Linked DNA regions of Homo sapiens: regions 1, 3, 4, 5 and 6 are each linked to region 2. The links are contacts of gene promoters, found by promoter capture Hi-C in blood cells and fetal thymus (Javierre and others, 2016). All regions are on one chromosome and are shown on one strand. The core of a region is centred on a gene start or on the middle of the fragment in contact, and the rest is flanking DNA. Distances in the headings are between cores, read along the strand shown. Region 1 holds the start of CHRM3 (cholinergic receptor muscarinic 3). Region 2 holds the start of CHRM3-AS1 (CHRM3 antisense RNA 1). Region 3 has its middle 36 kb from the start of CHRM3. Region 4 has its middle 430 kb from the start of CHRM3. Region 5 has its middle 63 kb from the start of CHRM3. Region 6 has its middle 19 kb from the start of CHRM3.

Region 1 (3,497 bases), core at 248-2,747, 510 kb after region 2:
GCAGAACAGGATCTCAATTCCAGCACGCACACCGCGAAGTAGACAAGTGAATTCTGCTGCTGGAGTCAACTGTCCGCCCGCCCCCGCCGTTTAAAAACACGCAAAAATTAACCTCGCTATTAGGAGGCTATGCTGAGGAAGTGTTCCAAAGAGGAGAACCGGTGCAGTCCAGCGGCCGCTGCCTCGCGAGTGCAGACTCTCCCCGGGTCAGTAAAGATGCGCACTAGGCTAGGTACCTTCGCCCAAGTGTTACTCGAAGTGCCAAATTTGCCTTCTCGCCCCCTGAAATGCAATCCGAACTTGCGGCCCCACTGCGAGGTTGGCGGGTGCCAGCTTTAGCCTTCTTAGAAATGACAGGAAACCAAATGGGGAGATGGGAGACAAACGCTCAACACACGAGTGCGCTCACAAACACACCCGGAGCCCAGTAGCTCCTCATGCTCGGGCACTTTGGAGCCTCAGATCCGGCAGTGGCGAAGAGAGAATCGAAGCGAGGGAGAGCGGGGTGGGACGTCCCCGACTCTCTCCCGGCCACCGCTCGCATGATTCCCGTCCCTTTCGGGGCACTTGAGTGCCAGCGGGCGTTCCCCACCCTCAGTCCCAGAACTCCAACTCCGCACCAGATCGCGCTGTCGGAATTCAAGTGCCCCCATCTTCCCCAAATCAACAGCCTCTCTCGTCCCTACCCAGCCCCTTCTTTGGACTCCAAACACAAGACCTCTCCTACCCGCGCCGAAAACTTTTTCCTCCTTTCGCAACGAGATAAGGCAAGAAACCAGGTCAGCCGCTACCGCCACCCGCTCTGCCCAGCGCCTGGGTGGCGGGCGCCGTCCCTACCTGGCAGCTGCGCTCCAGGTGGCTGTCCCACGCCGGTCTCCGCGCCTGCCCGGTGCGCGGGTGGCGTCCGCTCCACCTTCCCTTCGTCTCCTCCGGCTCCGCGTTCAGGGAGCGACTGTCCTTAAGATCGTGCCCCCCTGCCCGGAGCCGCCCTTCAGTTCATCGCCCGTCTTCCCAGAAGCGCTGCTGCGGCCCCGGCGGACTGATGAGGAGCCTGGAGATCCGCGATGGCACCGATGGCCCCGCGGTGTGCGCTCCGGGGTCTGAGAGCGCTCCGCCCGCGGGCAGCTGCGGCCGCGCGTCACATGCCGCCTCCGGGCAGCGGCCGCGGCACCTGCCCAAGCGGCAGCGCTCCCGGCTCGGCAGTGCCGCCCCCGCGCCCTGTGCTCCCCTGCACGCTCCGGCCCTTTCTGTTCACGCCCTTTTCCCTCTGTCTCCCGCCTCACTTTTTCTCTTCTTTCCGTCTCCTTCTTTATCGTGTATTCCCTTTCTCCAAAAGCAGAGAGAAGGCGCTCCAAGGGGGAGGAGAGGTCTTTTCCTCCCCACGAACTCTTCCTCTGCCTGGTGGTGGCGGTCGTGGCTACTGCTGGCCGCTCCTCCTCTCCTTCCTCCTCGCGTTCCTCCTGCTCCTCCTCCTCCCCGGACTGAGAGAGCTGGTGTAATGCACAGGCTGCGTGCTTGAGACCAAAACCTGCCCGGCTTCTGAGCATGCCCAGTTGCCCTGCCGGCGCCTAGCTCCATTCCCGCGTGCCCGCTGGGCTCCGCGTTCTCCGCCTGGCAGGGGGCGAGGAGATCCCAGGGTACTCCTGGGGTGGGTTGGCTGAAAGCGGAACACCAAGCAGGAGAGAGGGGGGCCTCACCCACCCAGCATGGCCTCACCTGTTCCCAAATTGTGCCTCCCGCGGCGCTTCAAAGATAGATTTTGCCGGTCTGTTAGTTTTGTTGTGTTCGCTTTTAAATTGGTTTCCCTGGACTGCTTAGAAGGACTGGAAGGAATTCGATTCCTTGGGCACAACTTATCGATGAGTGAACTTCAGCTCAGTTACAATATACGACTCCATGGCAAACCTTTCTCTAAGGAACAGTCTGATGCATCTACTTTTTGACATTTAGTGAGTCTGTTTCTGCAGAGCAGTGTAATAGAGGACGACTTGACTTTTCCCTCCCTGGACAGTTACACCTTGGGAGAAAATAAGACAAGCATCCATGAAGAAGACACTGACGTGCACGCGCGCGCGCGCGCGCGTACACACACACACACACACACACACACACACACACACACACACACTTTTTTAAATCAGAAAATAAAATGAAAGATATAACATTGCTAGCCAGTCTTTTAAAGCTCAAGAGGAATGAAAATCTAAGAAAGAAAGAAAGAAAGAAAGAAAGAAAGAAAGAAAGAAAGAGAGAGAGACAGAAAAGGTTATTATGTACTACTGCCAGCTAACTATGTAAGGAAAAAGTGGAGAGATACCAAATTTGAAAAGATACCAATGAGGCTGTCCCACGGCACTCTCGAGGTTTTGTTTAAAAAGCACATAAGGAAAGATAACAGAGGAATCTCACAAGAAAGGACAAGCATAACAATGATAACTGAAAAAGAAGAAAAGAAAGAAAAAGGAAGGAAGGAGGAAGATAAAAAGAAGAAAAAAGCAAGAAATTGAAGCATAGTATGAAATGAAATATTTAACAATATTAAAGGCAGCAAATGATTTTAATTCTATTTGGAACAAGAAGATAAATAGGAAAAGATAGAGCTCTTTGAAAAATTAAGTAATTCTAAGAGATTAGAGAAACACCAGTATATGAATTCCTTTCTGAACCTATATTCTTCTCTAGGTAGAACAATCTTTAGGAGAGAAGAGACTAAACTTTGCGTAGAAAAGATTGAGATCATGCTGGGAAAATAGCTAGTGAGAAAGCATGTGGCTACTTAAATTAATTAAAATATCTAGGCTTAGGTAAATTGCATCCAGGATACTAGAATAGTAATAATAATAACAATATTGTAGCCTTTTTATTGGGATACCTCTCAGAAGAAAATATAACAGTTACTTTCAGATACTTCTTTAATCTTTAAAACAATCAAATGAGTATTTTATCCTTGTGTACTAAAGGAGAAAGGAATTTAAAGGAATAATTTAATTGTCCATTATATAGCTAGTAAGAGGAACATGAATTCGGATTTAATATCTTTCCCATTACATAGAATTGTTATTTGCCTGTGGAAACAGGAGTAGCTTTGATAATATTGATCCATAAAGAACAGGCAAGGACCAAAAGAATGGACAAGTAGTGATTATGTAGTTTTCAGAGAAAGACAAAAGTTATTAATTTTTAATGAAAATATTCTGGTATGTATACAATGGTTAAGTTTGAGACTGGCCTCTGGCAATGTTCTGGAGAAGATACTGAAATAAATCATTTGTGACTAGTGAGAAAAGAAAAGGAAGCAACTACAATTTAGTAAAATAAATCATACCAGATTAAATTCATTTCCACTTGTAAATAGTCACTAAACTCATAATACAGTATTTCCTGATTTCAGCTAACCTTCCCATTATCATTATGGACAAGGTAAATGTAGATGGCATGTTTGTATCAAACAAATTACAGTTTAGACAGAGTTGCCTCCAGTTTCTTGGTAAGTGGAT
Region 2 (3,858 bases), core at 123-2,622:
TTGCCTTACACTCTGCTGTTGCTTTTAAATGCGGAGAAGGTTGGAGGAAAAAGAGGTCGCATCTGATAATATTGATCAGACTCAAAGAAGATGCGTGCCTCATGCCCTCCTGTCTGGTGCCCAGAGGTGGCAGCTGCTCAGAGGTCACTAGGTCACCATGGCAGAAGCACCGATGACCTGAATGCCTGTGGTAATGAATTCTTCCTTAGTCTTGCCTAAGACGTAAACTCAGCTGGGCGAACACCTTGATTTCAGTGTTGAGACCCTGAACAGGGAACCTTGTTGTAAGCTGCTAAGTTTGTGGTGATTTGCTATGCAGAATGGGGCCACAACAGGCAGCTTCGAGGCAAGTTATACAAAAATGAAATGACTGATCTTGCTCGCCTGAATACGATGGATTAAAAATATTATACACACTTTACATGTAAATGAGCAATGTATTGTCTCACACATAAGAAATCCTAGTTCTACTTGGGTTGTGGATTTTCTCCCCTCATTGCTGTAGGGGCCTTTCTTGCCTTCGTCCCTCCAAGGGAATATTCAGCACCTGCCATACCTCTTCTGAGCACACTGTCTTTTCTCGACAGCCCAGGTGAGGTACATTCCTGGTGCTCCCCAATCTATTCATATCAAGGCTGTACCCAGCTTTATCAAGGAAGACAATGTCCCTATAGGGCCAGGAAACAAGATCCCTCCCACCTTCTTTCAGACATTTTCTATGAACTTCTCCGAGGCCTTGGGGCCACGGCCTCATTAAAAGGACTGTTCTCTGGAGGCTCAGCAACGGAGGTCCTATCGGTACCCAGGATGACAACAGGAGAAAGTGATCAGCCGGTCATAAGGATTTCAAAAAAAAAAAAAAAAAAGAATATCTAAAAGTACTTATTAGAAATGAGAGTCACCAAATGTTTTACTTCAGGTATATCTATTATTTCATAGGTAATATGTAACTTCCTGAGAATCAAGACTGTAGGTCAGACCCAAATGAAGCAGTGATAACCCCGGGCTAAGAGCCCTCAGTTTACGGTGATTTTCTGAGTAGAAGGTATCATTCCTATGTTTAATATTCCTTCCTCATCCTGACTCAACAGCTATTCCATAGCATTAGGATATTTTGAGTCAAGGAAGTTCACAGTCTACACTCATTGAATTGAATGATATTGGTGAGGGGACCTACAGGAAGTCTTTCCTTGTAATGCTCAGGAATAAACAGGTGGTGGGAACAGAGATCCTTGTCAGCCCAGTGACCTTCGCACTTTATAAGTAATCCCAGGCAAGAGTTCTAGGAATGCAGCCTGCATGAGGGCTCAGGGCATGGTCAGATAGGGGCAGACCAGGGGCAGGTGCCTGGCTCCTCTCTGGGGTCAGAGCAGGCTCCCTCCCTGCCAGGTTGTGGGTGCAACATTCAGGGAATGGTTACTGAAGTGTTCCAGGCACCAGAGCTCAGGCAAGAAGTGGAAAACTGCGCAAGATCCTGCACGTGGGTACCATCAGTGCCTTTGTGGGGAAGTTACATCTGTGTGTATGTATATATACTTAGTATATATATACGATATACTTAGTGTACTTATATCGTGTATATATACTATGTACTTAGTATACTTACTTATATACAATGTACATATACTTAGTGTATATATACATTGCATGTTGAACTTACTATATATATACACACACACTACACACACACACTAATTGGTCCGCTAATTGGCTGTTGCATTTTGAACTTGGTATGTGTGTATATATACATGTGTGTGAGTATATATACACACATATATACGTATGTATATACATATCATATACATACATGTGTATAGATATGTGTGTATATATGTATATGTGTGTATATGTATATGTGTTTATATATGTATATATGTATTTATGTATATATACACACACACTAAATTCAATAGATATATATGCGTGTGTGTATATACACACACACACACACACACACACACACACACTGAGTTCAAAATGCAAGAGCCAATTAGTGGGCCAATATGAGAATTAAAAAAGAAAAAAATGTACAGCAAATTGAATAGGACGTATCAGAATGCATACCACATAATGACAATCAATATCACTTCATTAAATTTTTGCTCGACATACACACACGTATAAAATTATGTCTATAGTCATGATGTACGTACAATGTATTTTGTGTTGAATAATGTTGGAAAGCCACTGCAGTGGATATTTTGACATCTTTTATTAATATTTAAAAGAAGAGGGTGAAACAAAAAATGTGAAAAAAGACAAAAAAGTTTGACAGTACTGAATTTAGGAGAAATTGAAGGTTAGTTCTAGGAAATTTGCCTTCTTCCCCCTAGTTATGGCAAAAAATAACTTTTCTGGGGTTATAAGTCTGTGAAATATATAGGTAAATTTAAAAAATTTAAAAATGTGTAAATATCCAGTGTGAAATACATGTGAGATTGCTTACAGAAACGGACAAGGCCAATATACATGTGAGGCTTCTGGTTATAATGAATTCCAAGGAGATAAACTCATTTCATGTCCTCTGAGCCAACCGGGCAGTACCTACTTGGGAAAAATGTTTGAGGGCTCTCGATTTTTAAACCTGCTGAACCAATTAAAAGCGTATAAATTTTTCTAGAAGTCTAAATTAATTCTACGTCTATAATAATAATTATTTTTTTAAGTGATGATATGGGAAAAACCCAAAATATCTTTGCAACATACAGCCGTGCGTTTTTTCTCAGACCAACTATTTAGTGCCTCTTCCCTATTTGTAATCCAGTCTGCGTCATTTTTCAGGGCTTGTTTTGGGTCTCTGACTGCCTTCTTTGCTTAGAGTGTCTCTGTTTTCTGTCATAATTCACTATAGCATTCAACGGCTAAAATGACTTTTAAAACTACCTGGTGAATGGCAATACCACATCAAACCACTAGGTGGCAAAGCAGACTCGGAGAACGACCTCTCTGCCAGCAGGCGCTGAAGCAGCTACCCGTTCCCCATGCTGGTGACCAGGAACTTCAGCTTAGCTCAGTCATGCAGTTCGCGGAGGATATCAAACAGAGTCAACAAAGCTTTGCAATCAAACGTGTCTTTAAAGGGAATCCAACTTGTGAACCTGGCTCTTGATATTCATTTGAAGCTGCAAGGGGGAAAAGATGTTACCTAATATGGAGCAATGGCTCTTATTGTGAACAAAACATCTCTGAACACCAAAACCGGAATAAAATTCTATTTAAAAAGGGGAATTTTTTTTTTAGAAAGTTGATTTATCTTGCTGCCTCCTCCCTCGGTTGCCACTTTTCATGGGTTTTTACTTGATTTGATAAATATGGACCTTGACAACAACAATGCAGGGTGCTTGGAAAAGGATTTGCATCAGGACCTCTTACGTGTAGCAGTAGCTGCTGAAATAACAGTTTTTCCTCAAAAACAAAAACCTAGATTCGACTGATGTTTCCTTGCATTAGCACTCGCAAGTCTAAAACCTTTTGTCATTAGAATATCTAAAGAAATGGCACGAAGTGAAAAGCAGGCGGGAGAGGTTCTTGTTAAATATTAGTATGACCCCTTCACCCAGAAAGGGCAGACTCCTTGTTGCTGAAGTTACTCTTTTCTGAGAGAAACAGGGAAAGAGTGCAGCTGGATTCTGTTCCACTGCAAACAGATTTGCTGATTACTGTTCAACATTTTAAAGAGGTATTTATTATTATGTGTTTTTAATACTGTGCCTTTATAGTGGAGGATAAAGAACAGTGCTTTTAAAATACCAGCTGATCTAATATAACTGTGGAAGTTATTCTGATGAAAAATCTAGTGAAAACAGTCATTTGGACTAAATATTTCTAATATGTCAGTTTAGGTACTGAAAGGACACC
Region 3 (3,627 bases), core at 702-3,201, 550 kb after region 2:
GCCCACCTCGACCTCCAAAAGTGCTGCGATTACAGGCGTGAGCCACCGTGCCTGGCCCATCTTCTTCTTTTTTAAAAAACAAAACAAAACAAAACATTTTCAATCTTTTTTGTTTACCCCACACTTACTTCTAAAACTTGTCTCCAAGTACCACATCAAATGGTACTTAGACAATGTGTTCTATAGCATTTGGGGTCGATGGTTACAATAATTGCGTCCAATAACTAGTGTTTCTCACCACTCTGGCATTTGTTTGAATCTCTCCTATATTTCCTCTGAGTGTGATCAATGGGATGTCAGCAAATGTAGAGCCAGTAGATACTTTAAAAGGTCTTGCTGAAGCAAGATTGTTCTCTGGTGCATCTCTTGCCACATTTCAAAACAAAACCAACAGCTTCCGCTCGCCTTCTGGAGGTTGACAGAGAACCAGGAGAGGGAAGGGTCAGTCATGCCACCTGCCCCGACAAAGGACATGAGTGAGCAAAGACAATTCTTCTAAGCTGAGCCCAGCCCAAAGTGCCAACTCACGGAATCATGAGCAAATACGCAGCTGTTATTTTAAGGCATTAAGTTTGGAGACAGTTTGTTTCCGAGACTAGGTAACATCATCTCCCTGGAAACATAATTTCCTTAGCTGCCATTTCATGTTATCGCGGGCTCCTGGTTCCTTCTCTTACTCTTTCAATTATCTCTCTGTCTTCTCTCTCGCTTTTTTTTTTATTCCTTTTTAAATGTAGTAAAAAGTAGGACGTATTAACTTTAGTGAGGTTAGGTCACAAAGCAGGAATAAAAAGAACATCAGTACACAGGCAGTTCTCTGGGTACTGCCAACTCCACTAAAAACTGTACATGATTGGCCGGGCGGGGTGGCTCACGCCTGTAATCCCAGCATTTTGGAAGGCAAGGCGGGTGGATCACGAGGTCAGGAGATGGAGACCATCCTGGCTAACACGGTGAAACCCTGTCTCTACTAAAAAATACAAAAAATTAGCCAGGCCTGGTGGTGGGCACCTGTAATCCCAGCTACTCTGGAGGCTGAGGCAGGAGAATCGCTTGAACCCAGGAGGCGGAGGTTGCAGTGAGCCGAGATGGCGCCACTGCACTCCAGCCTGGGTGACAGAGTGAGACTCCGTCTCAAAAAAAAAAAAAAAAAAAAAAAAAAAAAAGTACATGATGGATCTAATAAGGAAACCACTCTTCTTTTGAGTCCTAAGCTTGTAATCAGAATGGTGGTCGTCATTGTTTCCATGCTATTTATAAAACTTAAGACTTTCCTAATGTTTCTTTGGAAGAAATAACAAAGGTTTTAATGTAGCATGTGTATGAACTATTGACACTCTATACTGTAACCAGGAAAAGTGAAAATTTTGGTTTCTGATTTCCCACATCTATTTTGCATCATTTGTTGCTAATGTGTAAATTTTCTGCATAGACAAAGGTTATTTATTTAGCCACAGCGAGTCACTATATAGCACATTTAATTAATCATGCGATTTTCTCTATGGCTATTTATGTACAACAGTAAAAACCAGTGCTTTGTATATTGAATAATGCTTTAGTGTGGACATATACTTGACCAACAGGATATTTAATTAAATGGGAGGTATTTTTCATTCCACTGTGTGATGCCACATTTCTGACTTTAGTAAAATCAGATGACAAAACTAAATAGTTTTCTTGCAGGTAGACCTGCCAATATGTTTTTTCAGATATGCAGTGAAGCTAGACTCCTATTTAATAGTGGAGTCTTCCTGTTGGTTATTCCACTTAGCATTTATTCCTGACATTATTGTATGCGGAGTTTTAGATATGGAAGGGTCACTTTTTGGCTGACCCACATTAAAATAGTCCACAGTCATCATAAAAGTACTAAACAAAGCATGGTAGACTCATACCTTTAGAATTTCCTTTAGATTTTAGATACTGGCAAAACCTTTGAATGATTCCTCTAATAAGCACAAGACAATAAGTATTTATTAAATTATATTAGGTAAGAACATGGTTAGATTCATTTAAAAAGTCATTACTCAATTACTTTTCCTCTAATATCTGCCTGCATGCCAGTTAACAGAAGATGTTTTAGCTAGTATTGCATAAGAGATAGTAAATCCAATAATTAAAAAAATCATTGAAAAGAAATTTTATTTAATTCCCTCTAGATTCTTGTGACATATTTGGAAGATAGTGTTTAGGGCTAGAGGTTTCAATGACGTTTCAATGACTTGCACATGAAATCATTTAGGGTGAGCTAGCTTGAAGTATTTCTCATAAGCAAGAAATAATGAAAATACTACTTAGCATAAAATATAATTTATTTCACCAAATCAGGATTATATGAGTGGTGCTGTGTTTGTTTCTCAGCCCTCTGGAATTCTACCTTCAAATGGTTTTGGTCCTCTTTTTATCTCCAACAGAAACAATCTTTTAAAAAGTAAACAATATAATCCACAAGGCTTTGACCATGGAGGTCTGCGACTATTGATGAATATGTAACTCCTATTTTCACTAAAATTCTTCCTTGTTAGGACTGGTTTCTTTTTTTTTTTTTTTTTTTTTTTTCGTTATTGTAGACTGGCCCCGAATAACTTCATTTCCCCAGAATCATTTTTTGTAGCTATTTTTACTATTTGTTTTCTTTGTCCAATTTCAATAGAAATAGTTGGAAGTGATACTAGAAATGAAGCTTACATTGGCCAATTATGTAATTTTTTATCTCTTTAGATTTGAAATATCTTAGGCCAAGAATACAAACTCGAAAAGATATGGAAACTTTAGTAGAGTTCTTTTTTCTTTTTTTTTTTTTTTTTTTGAGATGGGGTCTCACTCTGTCACTCAGGCTGGAATGCAGTGGTGTCACCTCAACTCACTACAACCTCTGCCTCTGGAATTCAAGTGATCCTGCCACCTCAGCCTCCTAAGTAGCTGGGACCACAGGCATGCGCCACTACACCCGATTAATTCTGTGTATTTTTGGTAGAGATGGGATTTCGCCATGTTGGCCCAGCTGGTCTCGAACTCCTGAGCGCAGGCAATCTGCCTGCTTCTACCTCCTGTACTGCTGGGATTACAGTCATGAGCCACTGCACCTGGCTAGTGGAACTCTAACTTGAGTCTCTGAATTTGTGATGGCCAATATGATATTTTATCAGAAGTGAAGCCTAAATTGAAAACATGATTTCAAGCATTCTACTAAAAATACAAACTTGTTTTATCTAGTTTATTTAAAGTGTATTTTTCCAAGTTATAGAGGAGGTGGTCTATTTATTATGTTAGAAAGTCCACAGAAACAAAACCTGAAGAATGGAGTGTTTACAAAAGTTCTTATAACCATACATTTTGGAATTCTTTTTAAATTAATTTTCTGGTTTTCAGATACTTATGAGAAGCCAAAATGTTTTATGATCCTCACTATGTTACAATACACTCCTGATTACTTCTTCCCCTTCAAAAGTAAATAAAAATAAACACACTCATTTTTAAATGTTCCTTTTAGTCTTAATTTAGAATGCTAGCTTGAAAGTTTTACTGTTGTGAAGGTGAAAAGTAGTTTTCGGGCCTTAGAATGCTGATATTTGGCTGAAGCTACCGATTGCAGCATAAACAGTGACTTTTCTAGAATTTGAACCT
Region 4 (3,694 bases), core at 359-2,858, 950 kb after region 2:
CCAGACACATAAGAGACTTATTCAAAAATCCAGATACGAACCAGAATTTTTCACAACGCTAAATTTGGTCTGATAACTGATGCTAGTTGTCTGAGGAATTAGCCCCTGTATGAAAGTCTACTCATGAAATTATTAGAAGGAACTCCATGAGCATAGCATAAATCAAATAGACTTTAGTACTCTGACTGGGGTATTTATAAGGTGAAGTGATAAATACTTCTTTTCTACATTTAGAAATATTATTTATGATCATATTCTTTAGGTGATTATGAACAAACAAAGGACGCTCCTTTTTCATTGCTCCATGATGATCATTCTCCAAATAACATGTTCTAAGGGTGACATAACTTTAAAATTTTCAAAGCATCTTCATATATACATTTATTAGTTTTAATTATACTAGTCATAGACAGTTATACTGGCTTTGTTTATATTAGCTTTGTTATAGCTTTGTTTTTGTTTTGTTTTATTTTGAGATGGAGTCTTGCTCTGTTGCCAGGCTGGAGTGCAGTGGCTCGATCTCGGCTCACTGCAACCTCCGCCTCCTGGGTTCAAGTGATTCTCCTGCCTTAGCCTCCCCAGCTGGAACTACAGGTGCACGCCACCACACACTGCTAATTTTTATATTTTTAATAGAGACAGGGTTTCACCATGTTGGCCAGGATGGTCTCAATCTCTTGACCTCATGATCTGCCACCGCAGCCTCCCAAAGTGCTGGGATTACAAGTGTGACCTAAAAGGTGAAGGAGAAGAGAAACAAAACTGACACTTACTGAACATTTATGATGTGTCAAGCAGTGTAATACAGAACCTCTACATGCTGTCTGAGTTTATCCACACAACACCCTTGAGAGATGAAGATTTATATCTCTGTTAATAGACGAAGAAACAGAGACTGTGGAGCAAATGTACAGGCAAGTAATAAATTAACAAAGAGCAAATGTTGGAATCCAAGTATCTGGCTTCAGAAATCTATTTTGCAAACGAGAACTGCCTTGTGAAAGTTCCTAAAGAGAATCTAACTTGAGTCCAGCATATTTCATTCCAAAGCAGCGTCCTTCACTGAGCACCTACTGGTCAAACTTGATATTAACCTACTAGTCATTAAAATTAGTTTTATAATATAACAAGCTTTAATCATTCTTAAACCTGTGATTAATTTTTACTTATTTGAATGTTAAAAAAGTAGCCATAAACATAAAATTTTATCGGGAACAAGACTGAAGCCAAACTTTTATATTGGTGATTTTTTTTTTTTTTTTTTTTGAGATGGCATCTCGCTCTGTCACCGTGGCTGGAGTGCAATGGCGTGATCTCGGCTCACTGCAACCTCCACCTCCCGGGTTCAGGCGATTCTCCTGCCTCAGCCTCCCGAGTAGCTGGGACTACAGGCGCCTGCCACCACGCCCAGCTAATTTTTATACTTTTAATAGAGACGGGGTTTCACCATGTTGGCCAGGATGGTCTCGATCTCTTGACCTTGTGATCCGCCCTCCTCGGCCTCCCAAAGTGCTGGGATTACAGGCGTGAGCCACCGCGCCCAGCCTATATTGTTGATTTTTAAGATGTTTAACATCTATTTTTTTCTATAGTTTGCAGATTTTCATAGACTGCATTCACAGAATCATTTTCTGACACAATCAACTCATTCTTTTATTTAACTTCTAACAATTGACTCTAGTTTCCTATTTTGAAACATGTCTGTCTTAATTATTGGCACATAGTATTGCTCTTTCTCCAGACATGCTGCTTTTTCTCATGTCGGGAAGCATTACAGCTTTCCCCCTAGAGTCTACAACATGAAATATTTGCTGAGAGTGATGTCTCTAATTTGATAGTCCAAGATTCCCCCGGGATGTAACTGGGGACTCATACGAAGGTGATTTTAAAACATTTTTAATGCCTAGAATGAATAAGATAAATACCTTTATAGCAAGATAGTACAAAATAGTCTTATAAAAAGTAGAGATACATTTAAAATTTTTGTGGGAATTAACAGGCAATTAACAGGGCTATTTTGTTCCCACTGTGCTCTCTACAATGAAAAGAATCATGGACCCAAATGAAACTTACAGAAGAAGCTTGTGATGTGGCTGAGCAATTTCCATTCTCTTTTAAAGAACAAAGCAATAGAGCTAGCTTTTCAACTACCAAATATATCCTTTTAAATAGAATTGAAAACACTTGATCTCTCACCATGACATTGAAATGCTCTTAATTTTTAAAACAACACATTAGGCTAATTAAGTCATGTTTAGAAATGTAGTTCCCTGTGATTAGACTTGTTCTCAAGTCAGTAACAGCTGACAGCACCATGCTGTTTATAATAAAGAGTAGAAAACAATGTTGGAACTGTGGATTTAACTAATACTTTTGAAATAATTTCTAATCAGTTGATGGATTGCATAAATCTAAAGTACTGCCTTCTTTCTCTTTGGTTTTATGGTTCATGGAATTTCAGAGAGTTAAAGAAGGTCAGACACATTCAGCTGTTTAAACAGGTGTAAAACCTCACCAGTTTATCTAAAAATTACCCCTATTTAGGCAAAACTCGTATCATTTCCTAGAATTTTGTTTGTGTGTGCGTCACCTCACCAAAGTGGTGCTCTTACAAATTAAATGGATTCAAGTATATTTTTCTTGTGAGTATTGATACTTTAGGCGATTTTGCCTGAAGAGGGCAGTGCTTCACCAATGGACGGAATCTCTAAGAGTAAAATTATGGAGACCGCAGTGACTACACTACAGAGAAAGGGCAATTACAGTAGATTACTTAATCAGCATACTTGAACAGATAGACGTTTTGCTTGCTATCAATATCTGTTTGATTATAGTAGCATATTGTTAATATGTCATCTTTACCTATCTTTGCCCAGCGGATAATGTCAGGAAATAAAGGACTGCAAATGTATTCAAAAACATACCTATGCTACATGAACATGTTTCTTAAATATAATATTCTTGCATGGACATAATAAAGTCACTATTTTTTTGCTAGCTGAAATCAGAGTTGTTTTCAGGGAAAGAATGGTCTTTTTAAAGGAAAATCCCTGCTGAGTCACTTAAAGGTGTAAGGTAACATGTGACTGTTTGGGTGTGAAGGAGGCTAGCAGAGGATGGTCAAACATTCTACCTAAGAAGAAAACAAAAAGGAATTGAGGGACATTGAGGGTACCTAGAGGCAGGAGAGAGTCTGGGGTCTGGTTGCTTAAAATTATTTAAATTAAATCTTACTAAGAGAGGAGAGTTCTAGATTTTAAATTATCACTGTAGTCTTGTGAGGTCTCTCTCCTACCTGCTATGAATTTCCACAGAAAATCTATTACGTTCAATTGGCTTGTGGGCTTGTCATTAAGGGTGAGTACAGACATCAATAGAAAAATCTTTTTCACATAGCAAATACATGAATAAATACGCGAATGAATTGATTATTATATTCAGATGCATTCTCTGTGACCACTGGTCATAATTACACAAGTTATGTTCTAATATTGAAAGACCATTCAGGTCCCAGAAATACCTAGGCCAGTTCATGTCTTCATTGAATGGCACCTGCTCGGCTTTTGTGAATTCTGAGATTTGCCTTTTGCAGTCTTCTACCTCTGTCTTTCCACTGAGCTGTCAGTCACACTTAGGCCTTTAGCTGTTCTATCTATTGGGTGGCCAGTGTTCTTCACTACACTGAAATTGCTGC
Region 5 (3,671 bases), core at 466-2,965, 580 kb after region 2:
AACTGAAAGGCGGAGAGAGACCAGAACCTGATGACACTTACTGATTTCCTGAATGATCACTTACATAACCGAATATATTTTTTCTCTAAGTTAGTTTAAATTGGACTTTCTATCTGTAAAGAATATTTAGCATAGCTCCTTTCCTATTTTAAGACTCACTATCTTCTTCTCATGCAACCATTGGTTTAATCCAATACTAAATCCACTTTACCTTGCTGCCTTCTCAAACTTTACTCTTTCTTTTTTCCTAATTTGTTGGATTATAAGCTTTTATATCTATAGGGAAAATCTGACCTTATTGATCACTGAGAATGTCCTTCTTGGAACATTTTACCTCCCTTCACTTACAAGATAGAAATATCTTACTAAGTTCTCAGTCTGTCTCCCTGACCATCCTCTCCCTATTTTCTGGTTCTTTTACTCCTTCCTTCCTTGGAGTTCATCCACTACTGATGCTACAATTATCATATCTCTTATTTTACTTGTGAACAAAATTCTTAATGTCTAAGCTTGAGTTCATTTTCTTCTAAAGCCTGACTCTGCTGCTGACTTCCACTAATAATTATATGGAACACCTCAAGGATGAAAAGAGGAAAATAAACCAGAAATGTAGAGAGAGATTGGCCAGAGAGAGAAAGAGGATTTGTGTCTTCCAAAATATTTCTATGTCTTGTAGGTCAAGAGAAGTGAGTGCTTCAAGAAGGAAGGGATTCTCAATATTGAACCTTTCAGTCCTTAGGTTCAGAAAATTGGAACTGTTTTTGATTTATTAATGTATCTTCTACTCTCTGTTTCGTTAGTTATACTATCTTAAAAATGTGTTTCTCTCTTCGTCAGCCCATGGAAAGAGTTGGCCAACTGCATTAGCTGAAGGATGGGAAAGCCTGATGAAATAGTGTGAGTTTCAGAAATGCAAGGAGACACATTGCCTAGTGCTAATACAGAATTTCCAAGGGTTCCATCAGAATAGAATATGGAAAAAATTAGAAGGATTCATTTTCCTAGAAAATTGGGATGAGATAATGTGCTAAGAGAAAGAAATTGGGAAAAGACTCCAACATGACTTGAGATATCTGATGAGATTTACCCTTGCATAGCAGTGCCCTGGAGTCTGGTAAGGCACATAAAAACCTTGGCTGGAAAGTAACTACCCAAGATATCATCAAAAGAGTTTGCCAATCTCATAGGGCTACAGAATTGGAAGTAGGTTAGGATCCCGTCAGAGAGACTAGAGTAGCTGGCTGTTTTCTGATCTATTGAAGAAGAAGAAGAGCAAAGATGGACGTATCCCTCACAGCTATTTTAGGGCCAAAAGGAGGAAATGTGACAATGAATGTCTCTAACTATCATAGTACTAATAATAGTCATAGTAATATATTATTGACTTTATTATTTTTTACATTTTGATTTTTCCCATTCTCAACCATCAGATTTATCTTTCCCAAACAGAAATTTGTTAGTGGCTATATATATATATATATATATATATATATATATATATATATATATATATATTTTAACTAATATCTCAGCAGTGATTCCATTATCTTCTGAATAACAAATAGCTTCTTTAGATTGACAGTAAATACCTTCTACAATTAAATCTTGGTTCACCTTTCAGCCTTCTATTAAATCACTTTCCTATGGCTTTGTCAAAATAGGTGGCCTCCCAGTGAGTTATTGTGTCCTGTTGTTTCCCTCGCTTTGCTCATGCTCTTTTTCCAGGATTTCAAATCCTAATGTCACATGCGGAAGTCCTAAACATCTTCCAGCTCAAATATAGCCTGGAGCAGTGCTCTTCACAACCCCAGTTTAGAAGTTATCTTTTCCTTCTCTATACTCAGATTGTACATTATTTGAGGTGTCAGAAAATACAAACATAATCGCTTTTTCATAATAGATTATACATTCATTGAGTTTTGGGACTACCTAACTATACTTTGTGAACTTCAGAGTCCCAGGGTCAGTGTGTCAAATGCAGCAAGTATTCAATAAATATCTGAAGATGAAAAACAAGGACTAAGAAAGGCTATTTTAAAAATATCAACAACAAAAAACAAATGTACCATCTGCTTTAGATTTACGACGTAAAATTCAGCTTCAAGTTTACTTTTGTCAGATTGTCACATGACATTTTTCAATGAAAAAATTAGGAGAAGCAAGAGTAATTTTTATTAATGGTTACAAGAACTTATTAAGTTATCAAAGGGCTTTGGAGAAGCACTGGGCTTTTTATAACATGTGGCATAGGGATGTCCTGTAGAGTAAATAATTGCTATGCTAAGAGAAGTCAATAAATGTGTATAACAGCTGTATCTCAAATTTAAATAATCTTTTTCACAAAGGGAATTATTTTAAGATGTGAAAAAGTTTTTTGCTTGCAGAAATCAGTATCTAAAAAAAGATTATTCTCAAAACACCCTTCCTTTTGTCACTCTTAGAAAAACAAAAAGACAACTTAAAATAAATACAATGTCATCCAACTTCCCCTCCAACATGCATAGCAGTTAAAAAAAAATCTAAGAACAAATGTGTATCTAGCTGGCGCCAAATTGAACCCAATGCAAACCGGAGCGCCTTCATAATAAACACTTTAGAATCATCACACAATAAAATGTTGACACATCCTTCAGTGTAACAAAACTGCTAGGAGCCACTTTCAGTGCCAATTGCAGAGTGTGACTGCACAAGAAAAGTGAGGGAGGGGTGAGAGGCGAGAGGGGGAGAGAGAGAGAGAGAGAAAGAGAGAGAGAGAGAAAGAGAGAAAGAGAGAGAGAAAGACTTTAAGAGGGTCAATAAAAGCTGCCAGTTCAGTGGCATCTAATTTAATGTAATTGCTCTTGTGGTATTGGTAACTGAGCCACAAAATAGTTCACAGAGCCCATTGATTTCTTTCCTGGGATCCATCCTCCTGAAGCTTTTGCATCTCTTGAACAAAAAATTAAAAAAAAGGGAGGACAATTATCAAGACAAACATCTGAACAAATACATGTTATTTATATAGAGCAGGGTGGTTTCTAGAGCTGATCCCTTACCTGAATTGGCATATCAATTATTTGTACCTTTCTGCCTCCTCTTACGTAAACTCAAAGCTGTGCCATGCCTTGCTGATTTACTCTGATAAGGTTCCTCTGCTTAACTTTAACAGCCTTTGGCATGACCTTGGGTAATGCATTCACATAATATTAATATCTGACATCATGTGCATTAACTGGAAATACTAAATTAGAAGACCAAGCCCACAAATACAAATGTATGCATTTTAAAATAAAAGTTAAGGAACATTGCTTATTTAGACTTATCAGTTCAAAAGGAAGAAATAAATCTACATTACGTGACGATATAAGTAATTTGTCATATTTCCAGGTATGCTACAATTTATGATCTATCTACACACTAGAAGCAGACATGATCCTTACAAATCAAAACAAAAAACCCAAATAATGCCAAACCACACTGTTCACCACATATTTCATATTTTCTTTCATAAAAGCAGATCTGTTGCCAGTGTGGTCAGGTAGATTTATTTGACTCATCAAATGTTAGGAAAAAGACTCGGATAAGACCATAAATAATAATTACTACCACCACCAGAACACCCAGTGTAATATTAATTTAGTAATGATAGAGAGAGTCAGAAATTTTACTTGGAAATTTTAACATTATATATC
Region 6 (3,584 bases), core at 500-2,999, 530 kb after region 2:
AAATTATGCTTCATAATTAACAGGGGAAGTCTACCTTCCAGGTTGAATACATGATATAGGAAGAGTTCAGAGGTGTGGAGGGAAAAGAGAGATTTCTCTTTTACCCTGCAAATAGATGAAAAGCACAAGAATATAGCATAAAATCGAAATCATGCTATTCTTCCTTAAACTTTTTGATGAAATTAGCAAATAATTTCATATAAAATTTTAAAATTAATGTAAGTTGAATTTTATTATTTTTGAGTAGAAAGCAATTTCATGAGCGCTTCTAAGATGAAGGAGAAAGCTTTGGAGAAATCTCATGCTTGTCCTCAGGCAGTTTGAGCTACATAGTCAGCTACCCGTCCACCACAATACCTTAAATACAATTTCATACTCCTTTATCTTAGGAGGAATTTGGTGGATAAGTTTGAGCTTTATTGCCATAAAAGAACAGGTTAAAGTGTCCTAAATGGACTCTGACAGGCAGTCTGGAAGTTATCAAATCGTTGATAAATCTAGTTAGTACTATTTGAAAAGTAAATTATGAGAAAACTGAGAAAATGAACCATTTTATTGCAAGAATGCAGCGTGAGTAACTCTCTCTGTGTAACAGCCTCTAATAAAATGTGTTTAATCACCTGCCGCAAACAGGAATTTCCTTTCAGCATTTCTACAGTCAGAACAAAGGAACTATTTCAGTTTTCCCTTTTAATGCCTTCTCCCATTGCCTGTCCTCAGTACAGCTGAATTGGCAACCTGTTATGTGAAAGGTGGAGCACAAAGTTCCACCTACCACTGGGTCTCCCCTCCCTTTCGTCTAGACACTTCCTCACCCTTGAGGAACAATACAAGTCAGGTGACTGGTGTAGAGAAGGTCGCTTACATTCATGTGTGTTACCTAAGAGGGTTGTATAAGAAGGTGGGAAGAACGCAGGGCTAGCATGGAATTTGTGGGCTTGTCTTTCTTAGTCAATTTCCTGTTAACATGGTTTACTTCGTAATATTCTTTAGAAGCAGATAGAACTTGTTATTCACATATATTAAATGTGTGTATATTTAAAGCTGTGGGCTATTGAGGCATTAGGAACTATCCAAGCAAGGGATAGATTTGGATTGAGTACTGGTCAGAAATTGCTCCAAGCATGGGGAAGCAAGGCAGCAGGTACCCATAAGACTCCCAACTGTGTCCTGTTGACCACCGGGAAACATGTCCAACTGACAGCTTTGTCCAAAGCAGGCCTGCCTCTTTATAATTTCATGGAATAATGAAATCAAAGCCTTGGGATAATCTTTTACATCAACACCTTCATTTTAATAAAGCAAGAAGCTGAGGTTTTAGAGAGAGAAAATGATTTCTATATAGTCTCACTTCTAGGTAGTACAAAACCTGGGACTAAAATATGGATTTTCTGGTTCTCAGTTTTGTGTCCTCCCTTTATGTATCATGGATAAAGTTTTCATCCAAAATACACAGAATCAGTGCCAGCAAGTTAAAAAACACCAGCCATAACTGAAAACTATTTTTCATTTTTTCTAATAAGGAAATGGAAAAGCTGGATGCCTGTAAATTATACTGGGTTGATAGAAACAGATAAATAGTAGAGGCACATCATTTGTTAAGTATCCATCCTATTTTGATTTTCCTAAAGCCAGTGCCCAAGAAGAAGAAATGGGTATAGATCGTTTATTCAGGGGGACATTTTAGGAAGCAGAAGTGAGAGAGGTAGGAAAATGAGAAAAAGAAGGAAGAGGAGTCAGCTATGTGCTCCATGATGCAATTGCTTCTGTGAGGAAGTAGAGGCTCAGTCCCCATGGAGCCTCTGAGGAACTGTACAGAACAGTCCTTAGCATTGTCTCCTTAGAGGACAGGATTGCTGGGGCTTTCCTCAAGACTCCTGACTCTCACTTGTGAAGGATTTATCCTGGGGTATTAATTCCCCTGCCTTTGTGTGTTGAGCTAGCTTGCAGCTCCATGGTCTCCTGTGGCAAGGGAGAAGGCCTTGAACAGCAGACAGGCATTCCTGGTATGGGCACTGGCTATGCACGTGGAATTGCCCACGAGTCGTGTGCTGAAAACAGCTGGGCTTAGGGGAATTTGCACAATGAATAGCAACCATTGGCTATAGCCTAATTCTCAACTATGACAGTTTTATGAGTTCTTTATCAAGTAATAATTCTTATGAAATTGGAATTGAATCTCTTCTAGGGCTCTCTTGAAGAAGATTTGTGGGTTCTTTGTAAACTAGACCATTAGGTATATATATTATTCATTGAGAAGATGTAAAACTCCAGGAAGAAAATGCAACCGATATCAATAAAAATAATGCCTTTGAATAATGTCTTTGAATTCATGTAAACTTTTGACTTTTCTCAAAATTCTTTCTCATATGTTATCTTTTTTTGTTCTCCCATATCTCAAATCTCTCACTATTCTATGAACATGCTTGTCGCCTTTTTTGCTTCCATTCTCTTGTGATATATAATTCCCTCTTTAAATGTCTTTTTTTAAAGTAGACAAATCTTTGAAGATATAGGTGAAATATCAGGTCTTTCATGAAGTCTTCCCTGTTTCACTAGGAAAGCAGAATTAGCGGTTTTCAGCTCTGTTCTAAATTTTTAGGCACCTTTTTTTCCAGGAGACAATACCATTTCTAGATCTTAAATACGCAAATTCAAACAAGATGATATTCATTCTCTACTACTTTGATTAATATTCAGAATAAAATTTAATACCCAGCATGGATATGGCAATATAAAACATGTTGAATACAGTATTGTTATTAATTTGGAATATCTGAAGGGCAATATTTTCTATAATCTTGCTTGTTAAAAAGAATGTCATTGTTAAAATTGAATTTAATGGATTTCTGGTATAAGAAGACAATTTAGCAAAGTTTCTGCCCCCACCAGGAAGCAGAAACACTGATTTCATCTGTTATTAAATTAGGAGTTATCTATAATTCTGAATCTAAATATACAAAGGTGCAAAGATGTATGAATGATAAATTACTTAATAAGTTAGAGAAACTTCAAATACACACACACATGCACACACACACACATACACACATATGTACCTATAAAGGGAGTTATCAGTGAGAAGAAAGCTGTTCTTTAGAATTCATGTAAGGACACTTTAATCTGTTCTCTTATAGAAATTCTTTTGACTTGTGAAGGTGAGGAACCAGGACTATAGGAAGAAGTGTGTTTGGAGATGGGACGTAAGCTTGGGGTAATTGGGAAGTTTACATTAAGAGCAACTAGATGTTCAGGACCACCTCCCCCTCCCCAGAAGTCAGGCATGTAAACTGGATCAAGAATTTGAGGAATCCTTAGATAGAGAAACTGAACCATCCCAGAGAGTAAGCTTGGATCATGCTTAAAAGAGTGAAGTCTACCAGTCAGAACAATCTGCCATTCACACAGAGCTTAAAAGCAAGCTTTAAATATGAACAGATAGCTTAGCATCTTAAAACTTTTGAGAAAAGCCTCTAACATGAAAAGAGAAAAAGCAACCAATGATAAACAGGGAGCTGAGAAGGAGCAGAGGCAATGTTGAAGGCAAAAACAGCTTCGAAGAAACTGCACTTAATATACTCAGA

Evidence for each region. Contacts are between HindIII fragments. The CHiCAGO score rates a contact against its expected background, and 5 or more counts as called.
Region 1: the fragment with the promoter of CHRM3 here is called in contact with the fragment with the promoter of CHRM3-AS1 in region 2 in 14 of 17 cell types (activated CD4 T cells, megakaryocytes, naive CD4 T cells and 11 more); the score reaches 21.3 in activated CD4 T cells.
Region 3: a contact is called between a fragment that was not itself captured here and the fragment with the promoter of CHRM3-AS1 in region 2, in 6 of 17 cell types (M2 macrophages, activated CD4 T cells, M1 macrophages and 3 more). The highest score is 8.3, in M2 macrophages.
Region 4: a contact is called between a fragment that was not itself captured here and the fragment with the promoter of CHRM3-AS1 in region 2, in 1 of 17 cell types (megakaryocytes). The highest score is 7.3, in megakaryocytes.
Region 5: a contact is called between a fragment that was not itself captured here and the fragment with the promoter of CHRM3-AS1 in region 2, in 4 of 17 cell types (activated CD4 T cells, fetal thymus, naive CD4 T cells and 1 more). The highest score is 6.8, in activated CD4 T cells.
Region 6: a fragment that was not itself captured here is called in contact with the fragment with the promoter of CHRM3-AS1 in region 2 in 9 of 17 cell types (M0 macrophages, M1 macrophages, total CD4 T cells and 6 more); the score reaches 8.6 in M0 macrophages.

The regions. Positions count from the first base shown.
Region 1 is chr1:239,384,568-239,388,064 of GRCh38, reverse strand. It overlaps CHRM3 (cholinergic receptor muscarinic 3), which reads right to left and starts at 1,497. Exons shown (of 7, transcript NM_001375978.1): 1 at 838-1,497. RefSeq lists enhancers at 1-274, 275-775. The HindIII fragment of the contact is 9,736 bases long and covers 1-3,497 here.
Region 2 is chr1:239,897,386-239,901,243 of GRCh38, reverse strand. It overlaps CHRM3-AS1 (CHRM3 antisense RNA 1), which reads left to right and starts at 1,372. Exons shown (of 2, transcript NR_046582.1): 1 at 1,372-1,480; 2 at 2,852-3,225. All of the region lies in intron 6 of CHRM3 (cholinergic receptor muscarinic 3), which reads right to left. The HindIII fragment of the contact is 7,774 bases long and covers 1-3,056 here.
Region 3 is chr1:239,349,195-239,352,821 of GRCh38, reverse strand. No RefSeq gene overlaps it. Among named protein-coding and RNA genes, the nearest start is that of CHRM3, 36 kb to the left of the region's middle. The HindIII fragment of the contact is 1,469 bases long and covers 1,217-2,685 here.
Region 4 is chr1:238,950,988-238,954,681 of GRCh38, reverse strand. No RefSeq gene overlaps it. Among named protein-coding and RNA genes, the nearest start is that of CHRM3, 430 kb to the left of the region's middle. The HindIII fragment of the contact is 950 bases long and covers 1,134-2,083 here.
Region 5 is chr1:239,321,510-239,325,180 of GRCh38, reverse strand. No RefSeq gene overlaps it. Among named protein-coding and RNA genes, the nearest start is that of CHRM3, 63 kb to the left of the region's middle. The HindIII fragment of the contact is 2,408 bases long and covers 512-2,919 here.
Region 6 is chr1:239,365,803-239,369,386 of GRCh38, reverse strand. No RefSeq gene overlaps it. Among named protein-coding and RNA genes, the nearest start is that of CHRM3, 19 kb to the left of the region's middle. The HindIII fragment of the contact is 2,922 bases long and covers 289-3,210 here.